3 separate regions of the Homo sapiens genome follow, and all the other regions are linked to region 1. The links are contacts of gene promoters, found by promoter capture Hi-C in human tissues and cell types (Jung and others, 2019). All regions are on one chromosome and are shown on one strand. Each heading gives the region's core, a stretch centred on a gene start or on the middle of the fragment in contact. The rest is flanking DNA. Distances are from core to core; before and after follow the strand shown.

Region 1 (3,896 bases), core at 1,236-3,735:
CGCTGAAGACACTTGAGACTACGGCCGTACTTGAGGCAGAACTCGCACAGGTAGAGGACAGGCAATGTGGTGAGTTCCTGTGGGTACGGGGAGAAGTACCACGGCTTGAGGCGGTGCCGGCCCAGCTCAATGCACTCAATGTTCTTCATCCGGGTGACGATGTCGTCGTGGCTTCGATCAGACACCAGGCTGCCAGTCATGCGTGGTGCTGACGGTATTCCATCAGAGCTGTCCTGGGAGTCCTGCCCAGGGCCAGTGGAAAATACCAGGTTGTAAGAGACAGCTCAGCAGGACACCACAGCTCACAGCCCTTTGACAGGTTTCCTTCAAGCCTAACAGCAACCCTAAGGGGGAGGTACCATGATCCCCAATTTCCAGATAAAAAACCTGAAACCCTAAAGGATCGATGATGTGGAAAAGATCACCCAATGACCCCATTTTTTAGATGGAGTCTCAGTCTGTCGCCCAGGCTGGAGGGCAGTAGCGCGATCTTGGCTCACTGCAATCTCCACCTCCGGGGTTCAAGCAGTTCTCCTGCCTCAGCTTTCCGAGCTGGATTACAGGCACCCGCCACCACGCCTGGCTAATTTTTGTATTTCTAGTAGAAACAAGGTTTCACCATGTTGGCCAGGCTGGTCTCAAACTCCTGACCTCAGGTGATCCACCAGCCTTGGTTGGACTCCCAAAGTGCTGGGATTACAGGTATGAGCCATGGTGCCCGGCCCCAATGACTCATTTGAACAATGTTCTGCCTGTCTCCTAATCCCACCAACACTAGCTCTGCCCACCACCCCTTCTTTATTTTTAAACTCATCACTAAATAACTCTCCACCCTGCCTGCATCCCTTCCTTTTCACCCAGTTCCCTTCTGCTGCTCCCCAGACCCACCTCATCAGTGCCCAAACAATTCGATTTTCGCTTCCGTCCTGGCTGGGCTGCCACTGCCCTACGGGCGGCTCCATTCTGCCGAGATAGTAGGAAAAGAAGGGATGGCTGTGAAATGAGCCTGAAAAAAGCCACCAGAGAGTAGAAGAGAGGAAGAGAACAAGAGATGGTTTGGGGAACTCACCTGGGGAAAAACCGAGGCCGGGGCTGTCTCGCTGGGCACTGGAGTTGCTGGTGAAACCACCTCCACCTTCCGTTTCTGCAGAGAGAAACCAACAAAGGTGGGTCAGAAGGTAGAGAAGGTGGGACCTGAGAAGAAAGCAAGGTCCCTGGAATTGCTGAGGGTACCGTTGAGCGGTGGTTGGGCTGCAGGCAGGAGCTGGAGGAGAGCGGCTGGTCAGGCTCGCCACCGGGAATGGCCTCCCGCTCCTTGGGCAGGTTGAAGCGGAGTGTGATCTGGACCGGGATTGGCAAGGTCTTCCCGCTGGCCTGCGCCGAGGCCGGCTGTAGAGATAGGTCCAGGGTCTTCCTTTGGGGCGGGGATGGCAGTGGGATGGGGAAGGGGAAGAGGGGTCCCTCACCTCAAAATTATCAAACCCCACCCTCGCCTTCTGAAGGACACAGGACTAGCTACTGGACTCTGGGAGCTACATGTGCAATTTGGCCCCCATCCTTTGCAAGATGAAGTCAGGGTGAGAGGGAGCCGCCTCCTGCCCATCCAGGAGCTCCTAATGCCAACAGACAAGAGAAATAGGAGGCAGGAGAGAAAAGGTGAAGTGGGGGACCTACTCACCACCTCTCTCTCTGGAGAGCCAGGACGGGACCCAGGAAGTCCGTTCTTAGTGGGGGTCTTGGCCTCTTTCTTGGGGAACTGGATCTTCTTTAGGTCCAGCCGCTCATGCGTCACCCATTCATCCAGACGTTTGTTGACTGTAGCAGTGGGGATGGCTCAGGACAGAATGCCAAAGACTGTCCCCCAACCCTACCCTGATGCCCCACCTCAGGCCCAGAACTCACAGTCAATGTAATGGACGTAGAAAAGCTTCCGGCCACTGATGTCCTTCACGCTCAGGATCTCGGCCAGGGCTATGAGAATAGCATAGACAGGGGCCTTAGACAGGCCAGGCTATGAGACTCCACCCTTCCACGACCTGAACTCCACCCCCAGGCCGGATCCCTAAGCTCCAGCACTTAGGTCTCTCCTAAGCCTCCTTCAGTCACAAGTGCCACCCCTTTCCAGGCCCCGCCCTGTACCTCTCGGAGCAGCTAAGAGCCACGCCCCTTCATCAAAGTATCTGCGCCTCGCCCGCCCCATAATTCCAGACGCCCCTCCCCATCCCGGGATTTCAGTTGACTCCCGCCCCTCGCCCTCAGGTTCCTTAGTCCCGCCCCCCAACGTCACTCACGCCACTCATCTTCGTTGTCCTGGTTCCGCCGCAGCACGGGTAGGCGGCAGCCCTCGATTATCTCCCCCTGGGGAGACAGCGCGACGCCAGGGTCGGCTACTGGGGGGCCTCGGGCTCTACCCACCTCCCCTGGCTCCCTCCGCCCCGCCCCGGGCACCGGACTCACCACCTCCGCCATCTTCCCTCCCTCCACTGCCACTTCCGGCCCCTCTGGGAGACGTCACTTCCGGGACCGAGCGCCCTGTGGGCCCGGGCCTCACGAAGCCCCTGTAGAGGGGGACCTTTGAGAGACACCGCGACCCAGCTGCGAGGGGCAAGACTGCCCCTGTGACTCGGGGGAAAACGGAGTGTTACAAGCCTCAGGCCGAGCCCTAGGTGGAAACCCCATAACGTGCACAGCCAGTGGCGGTCTACTGAGTCCGTCACGTGACGCCCACCGGGTGCGAAGCTGGTCACGTGTATGCGGAGCGGGTCACGTGGCAATACCGTTTTTGGCTTTGTCGGAGGGAAGTCCTCGGGCGTCTCCTTGTGGCGGCGGGAGGTGTTGCCGGGAGTCAACTGGGCGCGAGAGGCTGGAGAAAGGAAGTGGCCTTAGAAGGGTTCGAACGCTCCCCCAAGTCTGTGGACTTCATTCCGTAGGCAAGAGGACTCAGGGAAGATTCCTAGCTTTATTTTGTATATTAGGCTTTTTTAATTTGTATATATTTATTTTTGAGACGGAGTCTCGCTCTGTCGCCAGGCTGGAGTGCAGTGGCGCGATCTCAGCTCCCTGTAACCCCCGCCTCCCGGGTTCAAGCGATTCTCCTGCCTCAGCCTCCCGAGTACCCAACTAATTTTTGTATTTTTAGTACGGGCGGGGTTTCACCATGTTGGCCAGGATGGTCTAGAGCTCTTGACCTCGTGATCCGCCCGCCTCGGCCTCACAAAGTACTGGGATTACAGGCGTGAGCCACCGCCCTCAGCCATATTAGGCTTTTTTTTTTTTTTTTTTTTTTTTTGAGACAAGGTCTGGCTCTCTCGCCCGGGCTGGAGTGCAGCCAGCGAGGCACAATCTCCGCTCACTGCAGCCTCCCCCTCCCGGGATCAAGTGATCCACCTCAGGCTCTCTAGTAGCTGGGACTACAGGCGCGCACCACCAAGCCTGGCTAGTTTTTTAAAATTTTTGTGTAAACAGGGTTTGGAGACTGGGCATGGTGGCTCACACCTGTAATCCCAGCTGCCTCCAGTCTAATCATGAGAAAAACATCAGACAAATCCCAATTGAGAAACATTTTACAAAATACCCCATGAATACTCCTCAAAACTGTGAAGGTGTCACCGGTGGAGGGTGTACAGGTTCTTGGCATCTAAAATAATGGGACAAAACGGCTGGGCGCGGTGGCTCACGCCTATAATCCCAGCACTTTGGGAGGCCGAGGCGGGCGGATCACGAGGTCAGGAGATTGAGACCATCCTGGCCAACACGGTGAAACCCTGTCTCTACTAAAAATAAATACAAAAAATTAGCTGGGCGTGGTGGCAGGCGCCTGTAGTCCCAGCTACTCGGGAGGCAGAGGCAGGAGAGTGGCGTGAACCCGGGAGGCAGAGCTTGCAGTGAGCCGAGAT
Region 2 (4,077 bases), core at 1,530-4,029, 140 kb after region 1:
TCGCCCTTCCTGTCCGTCGTGGATGAAGGGGACCACTTGGCTTCAGAAATCCCCGCTGGCCTCCGCCTCCCCTGGGGTTTCCCTTTCGGCGCAGGCGGGGCAGCGGCGTCATCACAACCATCGCCACCCCAGTAATCACAGCGAGCGGCCCTTTGCGCACGCGTGGAGCCTTCTCAGGCCTCAGTACTTCTCACTTCGCCCGGCAAGGCTGGCCAGGAGGGGTGCATTCTCCCTTTCCGCGTATTTCAAGACCACTCCCCTTCTGCATGCTCGGTGTCCCAGTCTGTCTCCTCGCTGCCTCCCGAGGCCTGGAACTGAAGCAAAGTTCGCCCCGAAGCCGACCGTTCTTTGAAGTTGAAATCCTCAAAAAGCCTGCAGACTGAATAGCGCTGTACTGGGCACGCGCATTGCGCTTCCAGCCGCCCTTGGGTGCTGCGTGCTGGGCCGGGTCGGGTTGGGGCCTTCCTACATACTCTTGCGACCATTAGGCTCTTCTTGGGTGAGTTGCAAGTTAAAATTACCAGGGCTCTCTGAACATGGACCTTGGTGCTTTTTTTCTCTCTCCCTCTTCCGTGTTCTTTTTCAAACGCATCTTCTCCCTTATTAGATTCAGAGAAGCCAGACAGGGCAGGCAGGGGTCCTCAGATGTGCAGTCTGCAGGGCCTGAGGTTGTACACCAGGGCAGTGGAAAAGCAGCTAGGACTTGGACTTTCACAGTTACATCGACATTCTCCTCTTCCGGATGGCACATGCCCCCTCAATCTGACCTGAAGTCCCTTCCTCCTGGCCCCCTCTTCCTTCCACGTAGAACCCCTGGAACTGTCATTCTTGCTGCCTCCTGCTTACGTGGAGAGCCCTGTGTCCCTTTCACATCTCCATCTACCAGTCAGGCTCTTGGGCAGCAGCGTACCTGACTTAGGGCCTGTACCACAAGTCGTTTCTATCAGGCTGAATAGAGCCACCGTTTTTTGTGTGTTTGTTTGGTTTGGTTTGTATTTTTTGTAGAGATGGGGTTTCGTCATGTTGCCCAGGCTGGTCTCCAACTCCTGGACTCAAGTGATCCTCACACCTCAGCCTCCCAAAGTGCTGGGATTACAGCGAAGAGCCACAGCACCTAGCCTGAGGCTGACTAGAGGAACTGTCTCTGAACCATCTCTTGGACTCCAGCCTGTATGCACAGACCCCCAGGTTATTACCGTCTCCAGCTCCCAGCCCTACCCTGAATTCCTCAGTGCGCCGACTATGTCACCATCATGGCCAATATCCACTCAACTGTCTATTCTGCCTCGCACCTACAAAGAGCCTTACATGAGTCCTCTCACTTAATCTCTCCAATTTACTCCTCATGACAACCTTACATATCCCCACATAAGCAGGAAACTGAATAATTATTTTAAAATACAGTGTCGTTCTTGTACTAAAAACCATCTGGCTGCCCGATACTGTGGCTCACGCCTGTAACCCCAGCACATTGGGAGGCCGAGGCGGGCAGATGTCTTGAGATCAGGAGTTCAAGACCAGCCTGGCCAACATAGTGAAACCCCTTCTCTACTAAAAATACAAAAATTAGCCAGGTGTGGTGGCGGGCGCCCGTAATCCCAGCTACTCGGGAGGCTGAACCAGGAGAATTGCTTGAACCGGGAGGCAGAAGTTGCAGTGAGCCGAGATCACACCACTGCACTCCAGCCTGGGCAACAGAGTGAGACTCTATCTAAAAAAAAAAAAAGCCATTTGGCATCTCCCATCACACTTAGACAAAAATCCAAAGTCCTTGTTATGGTCTCCAAGGTCCTATAAATCTGGTCCTTGACCCCCCAAATCCAGACAACACATAGAGAGATGCACACACATCTCCCATCCTTCCTGCATCCCTCTTCTCCCACTGCTCAAGAGGACTCTTGTCCCTTTTCTCCTCTCAGGGCCTCTCACCATCTTAAGTTCCACTGTAGGGTGGACAAGACGCAGAACTGGAATGAGGCAGGCCTGGGTTTGATCCTGGATCTATTTACTGTATCACCTGGAGTAGTTTACTTCATCGCTGTGGACTTCAATTTCTCATCTGTAAAACAGGGCCAGTAGACCAGGTGCTGTGGCTCACACCTATAATCTCAGCACTCTGGGAGGACATGCAGGAGGATTGCTTGAGACCAGCCTGGACAGCATAGTAAGAACCCATCTCTAAGAAATATATGTATTTTTTAAATTAGCTGGTGCAGTAGCATGCACTTGTAGTCCCAGCTACTCAGGAGGCTGAGTGGGAGGATTGCTCCCAGCCCAGGAGATCCAGGCTGCAGTGGGCCATGATCAGGCTTCTGCATTGCAACCTGGGTGACAGAGCGAGACCCTGACTCAAAATAAAAATGGGGCCACTTATGCCTATTTGTTGCTTGTTTGTTTTTTGAGATGGAGTCTCTGTCACCCAACCTGGAGTGAAGTGGCGCAATTCTCGGCTCACTGCCACCTCCACCTTCCAGGTTCAAGCAATTCTTGTGCCTCACCCACTGGAGTGGGATTACAGGCATGCGCCACCACAGCTGGCTAATTTTTTTTTTTTTTTTGAGACGGCATCTTGCTCTGTTGCCCAGGCTGGAGTGCAATGGTGCGATCTCGGCTCACTGCAAGCTCTGCCTCCTGGATTCACGCCATTCTCCTGCCTCAGCCTCCCAAGTAGCTGGGACTACAGGCACCTGCCACCACGCCCGATTAATTTTTTTTGCATTTTTAGTAGAGACAGGATTTCACTGTGTTAGCCACGATGGTCTCGATCTCCTGACCTCGTGATCTGCCCGTCTCGGCCTCCCAAAGTGCTGGGATTATAGGCATGAGCCACCGCGCCCAGCCAATTTTTTAAATTTTTATTTCTAGTAGAGACGGTGTTTCACCATGTTGGCCAGACTAGTCTCAAGCTCCCGACTTCAGGTGATCTGCCCACCTCAGCCTCCCAAAGTGGTAGGATTACAGGCCTGAGCCACCGCGCCAGCTTCAAAGATGTTTATCTAGGGAACAGCTATGGAAGATGGAGATAGTGTCTCCCTCCAGAGCAAAGGACAGCCATGCTTACTGGCTTTGAGTTTCCTAAGCTTAGGGTCCTCTCCCACAATGTAATTCGCTCTGTGTGCCCACACTTGCCTGAGCCCATCAGCATCACCCCCATGGGACTTAGGGTCAAAAGGAACTAACGGAAATATGCTGGTGCTCATGCTGTTTGCTGCACAGCGATCAAGTCCTTTGTCTCTGACCCAGGACTCTCCTGTATTCTGCCAGCATTCTTGAACCTGACGGGCTACCTTGGTAGCTTGCAAGTGGGTAAGATCTCAGATGCTTCACAGTCCTTGACATAGAAGGTGCTCACAGGTGTTGGTGGTAAAACCTATTCGCAGCAGTCACAGTGGACAGGCCAGTGTCTGTGGAGCAATGGGCTTGGGCTCTTTCACACCCTTCCCTTGCCGACAATATATCACACCTTCAGCCAGGCATGGTGGCTCACAACTTTAATCCCAGCACTTTGGGAGGTCAAGACTGGCAGATCACTTGAGGTCAGGAGTTCGAGACCAGCCTGGCCAACATAGTGAAACCCCATCTCTACTAAAAATACAAAAACTAGCTGGGCATGGTGGTGCGAGCCTGTAGTTCCAGCTACTCATGAGGCTGAGACGGGAATTGCTTGAACTGGGAGGCGGAGGTTGCAGTGAGTGGAGATCCTGCCACTGCACTCCAGCCTGGGCAACAGAGCATGGAGTCAGGGAAGAGAAAGGAGGGAAAGGAGGAGGGGGAGGGGGAGGGAAGGGAATCACAGTTTCATGTGAGCCAGTCCAAATTGGTCCCTCCTTGTGGCACTGATGACATGGCTGTAGTTAGGCTCTTTTCTGGGTGATAGAGCACCCCACAGCAGCTCAGTCATGCACAGCTCAATTACAGCTCCCCCTGGGCTGGCTGATTTGGTGGGGATGGTTCACATGGCAACAAGTGGCCTATGCCATGTTGCCTGGCCTCTGAAAAACGTAACTTATCATTTGTATTTTCACACAGGCACTGAAAAGGGGTCAGCTATTCTTTTTTTTTTTTTTTTTTTTTTGG
Region 3 (4,364 bases), core at 1,865-4,364, 170 kb after region 1:
CAGTGAGCCGAGATCACGCCACTGTACTCCAGCCTGGGCAGAGAGTGAGATTCCATCTCAAAAAAAAAAAAAAAAAAAAAAAAAGTTTATTGAGCACCTACTATTTTCCAGGTTCTGTGCTTTGTACTAGGTAATCAACAATCACCCAGGGCTCCCAGCTAGGGGAGGCCAACATGTAAACTGATTCTGACAGTTCAGGGTCCTGGGTGCCAAGAAAGGTATAGACTAATGATTAATTGCAATGGGGAGGTGAATGTTGAACTGGACTGAAACGTAAGTAGGAGTTCCCTAGGCATGGGAAAGGCAAGGCACGAGAAGTCATTCCAGGACCAAAGAGCAGTAATTGCAAAGCATAGAGATCTGGAAGGAGCTAGTTGTGTTTACAGAGGAGGGGAGGGTGCCCTGAGCACAGAGTTGGGGAGTGGAGGGTGGTCTAGAGTAAGGCGTGATGAGACCTAAAGGTATCGGAAGCTCAATTGCATTTGAGGCCTTTCCATTTGGGCTTCTGATACTTTTAGGTTTTGTAAGGTTAGTGGGAGCCACTGAAGGTGTTATGAAGGACAGCAGCTAATGTCCACATGCACATTCAGACACATGCACAGACACAGCAGACTTCCTGCTGTACATACTTTGAAACCAAAGTGGAAATTCAGGTTCTGAACTTGTGTGAGGCCCTTGAGGTGCAGCCCCAGGGAAAGAGGGGCTGGGTTTCCAGCTGCGCTACTCTTGCCCCGCAGACATAGATGAGTGCAGCCAGGACCCGAGCCTGTGCCTTCCCCATGGGGCCTGCAAGAACCTTCAGGGCTCCTATGTGTGTGTCTGCGATGAGGGCTTCACTCCCACCCAGGACCAGCACGGTTGTGAGGGTGAGTGTCCTCCCAGCTCCTCCCTCGGACTGGACAACTCCCCTGAGCTGCAGCTGGGATTCAGAGATGTGTCCTGGCCCCACCCTCCTAAATTTGGGGAACCGGAAGAAATCTCTTTTGGCTGGGGGAGTCTGGTGGGGCCAGACGATGAAGGGTCCAGAACACCACGTTGAGAACAGAGCCAACTCTCAGGAGGAGGCTAAGGGGAGCCAGGGAATGTGGGGGGAAAGACCTGTGGTGGGTGGGCAGGGTGGACAGGGCCAAGGGGGGTCTGTGCACAACCCTGAGCTGCCGTCTGCCCCTCAGAGGTGGAGCAGCCCCACCACAAGAAGGAGTGCTACCTGAACTTCGATGACACAGTGTTCTGCGACAGCGTATTGGCCACCAACGTGACCCAGCAGGAGTGCTGCTGCTCTCTGGGGGCCGGCTGGGGCGACCACTGCGAAATCTACCCCTGCCCAGTCTACAGCTCAGGTCAGGAGCCGGGCAGGCCCCTTCCCAGATCTTCAGTTTCTTCATCTGGAAGCCAAATGTGGGAAATGGCGCCCCCTGGCAGTTGGGAAATAGGCGGCGGGCTGCAGCCCTAAGCCCACGCGCGCGCTCAGTCCTGCCTCTTCCCTCCCCACGGCCGCCCTGCCCCTGCAGCCGAGTTCCACAGCCTCTGCCCAGACGGAAAGGGCTACACCCAGGACAACAACATCGTCAACTACGGCATCCCAGCCCACCGTGGTAAGCGCCCTGCGGCTCCGCCCGCCCCGCGCCCTCTCACCCCGGGTTGGGCTCGCCCGGATCCCGCCGGGACTCGCTGGGTCAGCTGCCCGCGCCGGGTAAGCCCCGCCCGCACCTTCCTCGCAGGCCCCGCCCTGTAGGCCCCGCCCCTCCTGTAGGCCCCGCCCGGGGATGGCTTCGCTCCGGTGGTGCGCCCAGCCCACGCCTCCGGGCTGCAGCTGCGGGACCGGAGCGGCCAGTGTTTGTCACCCCGCAGACATCGACGAGTGCATGTTGTTCGGGTCGGAGATTTGCAAGGAGGGCAAGTGCGTGAACACGCAGCCTGGCTACGAGTGCTACTGCAAGCAGGGCTTCTACTACGACGGGAACCTGCTGGAATGCGTGGGTGAGCTCCGCCCCCCGGCGGCCGTGGGGAAGCGGCAGGGAGACACGCGCCACCGCGCCCATCCCGGGCCTGCCCCTGCTACCCACGCTTTTCCTCCCTGCAGACGTGGACGAGTGCCTGGACGAGTCCAACTGCCGGAACGGAGTGTGTGAGAACACGCGCGGCGGCTACCGCTGTGCCTGCACGCCCCCTGCCGAGTACAGTCCCGCGCAGCGCCAGTGCCTGAGCCCGGAAGAGATGGGTGAGGCCCGGGCCGGGGAGTGGGGTACGCGGGAGGGGCGGGGCCCGGGCCGAGCTGTGACGGCCCCCACCCACCCCCTCGCTGTTCGTAGACGTGGACGAGTGCCAGGACCCGGCAGCCTGCCGCCCTGGCCGCTGCGTCAACCTGCCGGGCTCCTACCGCTGCGAGTGTCGCCCGCCCTGGGTGCCCGGGCCCTCCGGCCGCGATTGCCAGCTCCCCGAGAGCCCGGCCGGTGAGGGCGAGGGTTGGCCTTGGCCGATCCCGGGGCCCTGTCCGTCACGTGGCCCCCGCGCAGGTGGGGTGGGGCGGAGGCGGGCGGTTCCTGCCTTGGGCCCCTCCCCTGATGCCAGGTGTCTTCCGCAGAGCGTGCCCCGGAGCGGCGCGACGTGTGCTGGAGCCAGCGCGGAGAGGACGGCATGTGCGCTGGCCCCCTGGCCGGGCCTGCCCTCACCTTCGACGACTGCTGCTGCCGCCAGGGCCGCGGCTGGGGCGCCCAATGCCGACCGTGCCCGCCGCGCGGCGCGGGTAAGGCAGTCGGGGAGGAGTTGGCCGGGAGCGAGGATGGGGGCCAGGGCCCGGGGACCCGGACGTCGCTGACCAGTTCTGCTCCTCCCAGGGTCCCATTGCCCGACATCGCAGAGCGAGAGCAATTCCTTCTGGGACACAAGCCCCCTGCTGTTGGGGAAGCCCCCAAGAGGTGAGTGCTGCCGGGTCGGGCGGTGGCGGGGTTGGTAGCCTTTGGCCGGGGCTCAGTGTTGAAGTCCATATTGTTCCGGGCCACGCAGATGAGGACAGTTCAGAGGAGGATTCAGACGAGTGTCGCTGCGTGAGTGGCCGCTGCGTGCCGCGGCCGGGCGGCGCCGTGTGCGAGTGTCCCGGCGGCTTCCAGCTCGACGCCTCCCGCGCCCGCTGCGTGGGTGAGCCGGGCTTCGGGGGTGGGGGCAGGGGCGGGGCCGGTGGTGAGGAGCCGCCTGGAGGCTCAGCGAAGCCGCACCTGTCGCCCTCACCTTCAGATATCGACGAGTGCCGAGAGCTGAACCAGCGCGGGCTGCTGTGCAAGAGCGAGCGCTGCGTGAACACCAGCGGCTCCTTCCGCTGCGTCTGCAAAGCCGGCTTCGCGCGCAGCCGCCCGCACGGGGCCTGCGTTCCCCAGCGCCGCCGCTGACGCCGCCGACGCCGCCCTCGGCCCAGACCTCGGTGATCACTGAGGGATTTCCGCGAGCTCGGCCTCACTTCTGCCCCGACTTGTGGCTCGGACCCAGGGACCTTCAGGGCCCGCAGACCCTCCCGGCGCCTTGAGACCCGAGGCGCCCCTACCGGCCCCCCTCCCCGGTTAGCGGGCGGTTGTAAGGTCTCCGGCGGGCGCTGCCTGCCTTCCTCCCAGAGGGTGTTTCCTAGAAACTGATAAATCAGATCGTGCCTCTTTACCCTTGGCTTTCGAAGCAAATTGATGTTCACGTCTGACGTGGGCGCGGGCTGCGCAGGGCGGCGCCAGACCCCAGCCGCCTCCCAGGGGCTAGACTGAGCCCGGCACAAGGGGTGTGAAATAGAATTTATTGTGGCTCTGATTATGTACACGTGAGATGGCCTGGCTGGGCCGGCCGGGCTCACATGGTTTGTACAATAAATACATCTGTGGGGCGGGCTCTCCGCAGCCGGGAAGGGCCACCGCCACGGTTCAGTCCAGCTTCCGGGCTCCCAGCTTCATGGGGCCCTTGGCCACCTTCCTCTCGGCGCGTTTGGCCTCCATCTCCCGCCGCCGCTCCTCGCGCTTCTTCCGGGCCAGCTCAGCCTTGACCTGTCCTGGCGTCAGGAAGGGGAGCCCCGGTCTCAGCTCTCCAGCCAGTGCCTGCCGGGGGCCTGTAGGGGCGGGCTAGTCGGGGAGCCCTAGTCTTCAGCCCACCCAGGGGAAGCACTTACGACTGTCAGTCTCGAGGCCCTCCCAGTTGTCCTCACCCCAAGAGTCTGGCCTCGGCTGTAAAGAGAAGTGTGGGCTGCAGTGGGGCCCACTTCTGGCTGAGGTCCACCATCTCTACCCTCTCGCCAGACCTGTGCTGGGTACCTGGGTGCTGGGACGTGCAGACAGGGTAGCGAAGGGGTCGCCCTTGTCGCTGGACTCTGGGCCACCCCAGTTATACTCGCT

What was found. Contacts are between HindIII fragments. The study calls those that stand out against the background at their distance.
Region 2: a fragment that was not itself captured here is called in contact with the fragment with the promoter of KAT5 in region 1 in 1 of the 25 tissues and cell types used here (spleen).
Region 3: a contact is called between a fragment that was not itself captured here and the fragment with the promoter of KAT5 in region 1, in 1 of the 25 tissues and cell types used here (dorsolateral prefrontal cortex).

Annotation. Positions count from the first base shown.
Region 1 is chr11:65,710,841-65,714,736 of GRCh38, reverse strand. It overlaps KAT5 (lysine acetyltransferase 5), which reads right to left and starts at 2,485. Exons shown (of 13, transcript NM_182710.3): 1 at 2,292-2,485; 2 at 1,903-1,971; 3 at 1,679-1,815; 4 at 1,234-1,389; 5 at 1,070-1,144; 6 at 889-963; 7 at 1-242. The coding sequence starts at 2,469. RefSeq lists silencers at 2,160-2,239, 2,250-2,439 and enhancers at 2,470-2,779, 2,810-2,929. The HindIII fragment of the contact is 8,771 bases long and covers 1-3,896 here.
Region 2 is chr11:65,566,118-65,570,194 of GRCh38, reverse strand. ZNRD2-DT (ZNRD2 divergent transcript) reads left to right here. Exons shown (of 1, transcript NR_038923.1): 1 at 1-975. Among named protein-coding and RNA genes, the nearest start is that of ZNRD2-DT, 2.3 kb to the left of the region's middle. RefSeq lists an enhancer at 1-360. The HindIII fragment of the contact is 2,559 bases long and covers 1,500-4,058 here.
Region 3 is chr11:65,538,102-65,542,465 of GRCh38, reverse strand. SCYL1 (SCY1 like pseudokinase 1) reads right to left here. Exons shown (of 18, transcript NM_020680.4): 16 at 4,284-4,364; 17 at 4,142-4,196; 18 at 3,762-4,024. The coding sequence ends at 3,900. It overlaps LTBP3 (latent transforming growth factor beta binding protein 3), which reads left to right. Exons shown (of 28, transcript NM_001130144.3): 19 at 738-866; 20 at 1,173-1,340; 21 at 1,512-1,595; 22 at 1,852-1,980; 23 at 2,084-2,221; 24 at 2,313-2,453; 25 at 2,585-2,746; 26 at 2,838-2,918; 27 at 3,007-3,138; 28 at 3,235-3,907. The coding sequence ends at 3,386. Among named protein-coding and RNA genes, the nearest start is that of SCYL1, 15 kb to the right of the region's middle. RefSeq lists enhancers at 1,288-1,337, 1,554-1,848, 3,454-3,957, 3,958-4,364 and silencers at 1,588-2,347, 2,398-2,597. The HindIII fragment of the contact is 9,195 bases long and covers 1-4,364 here.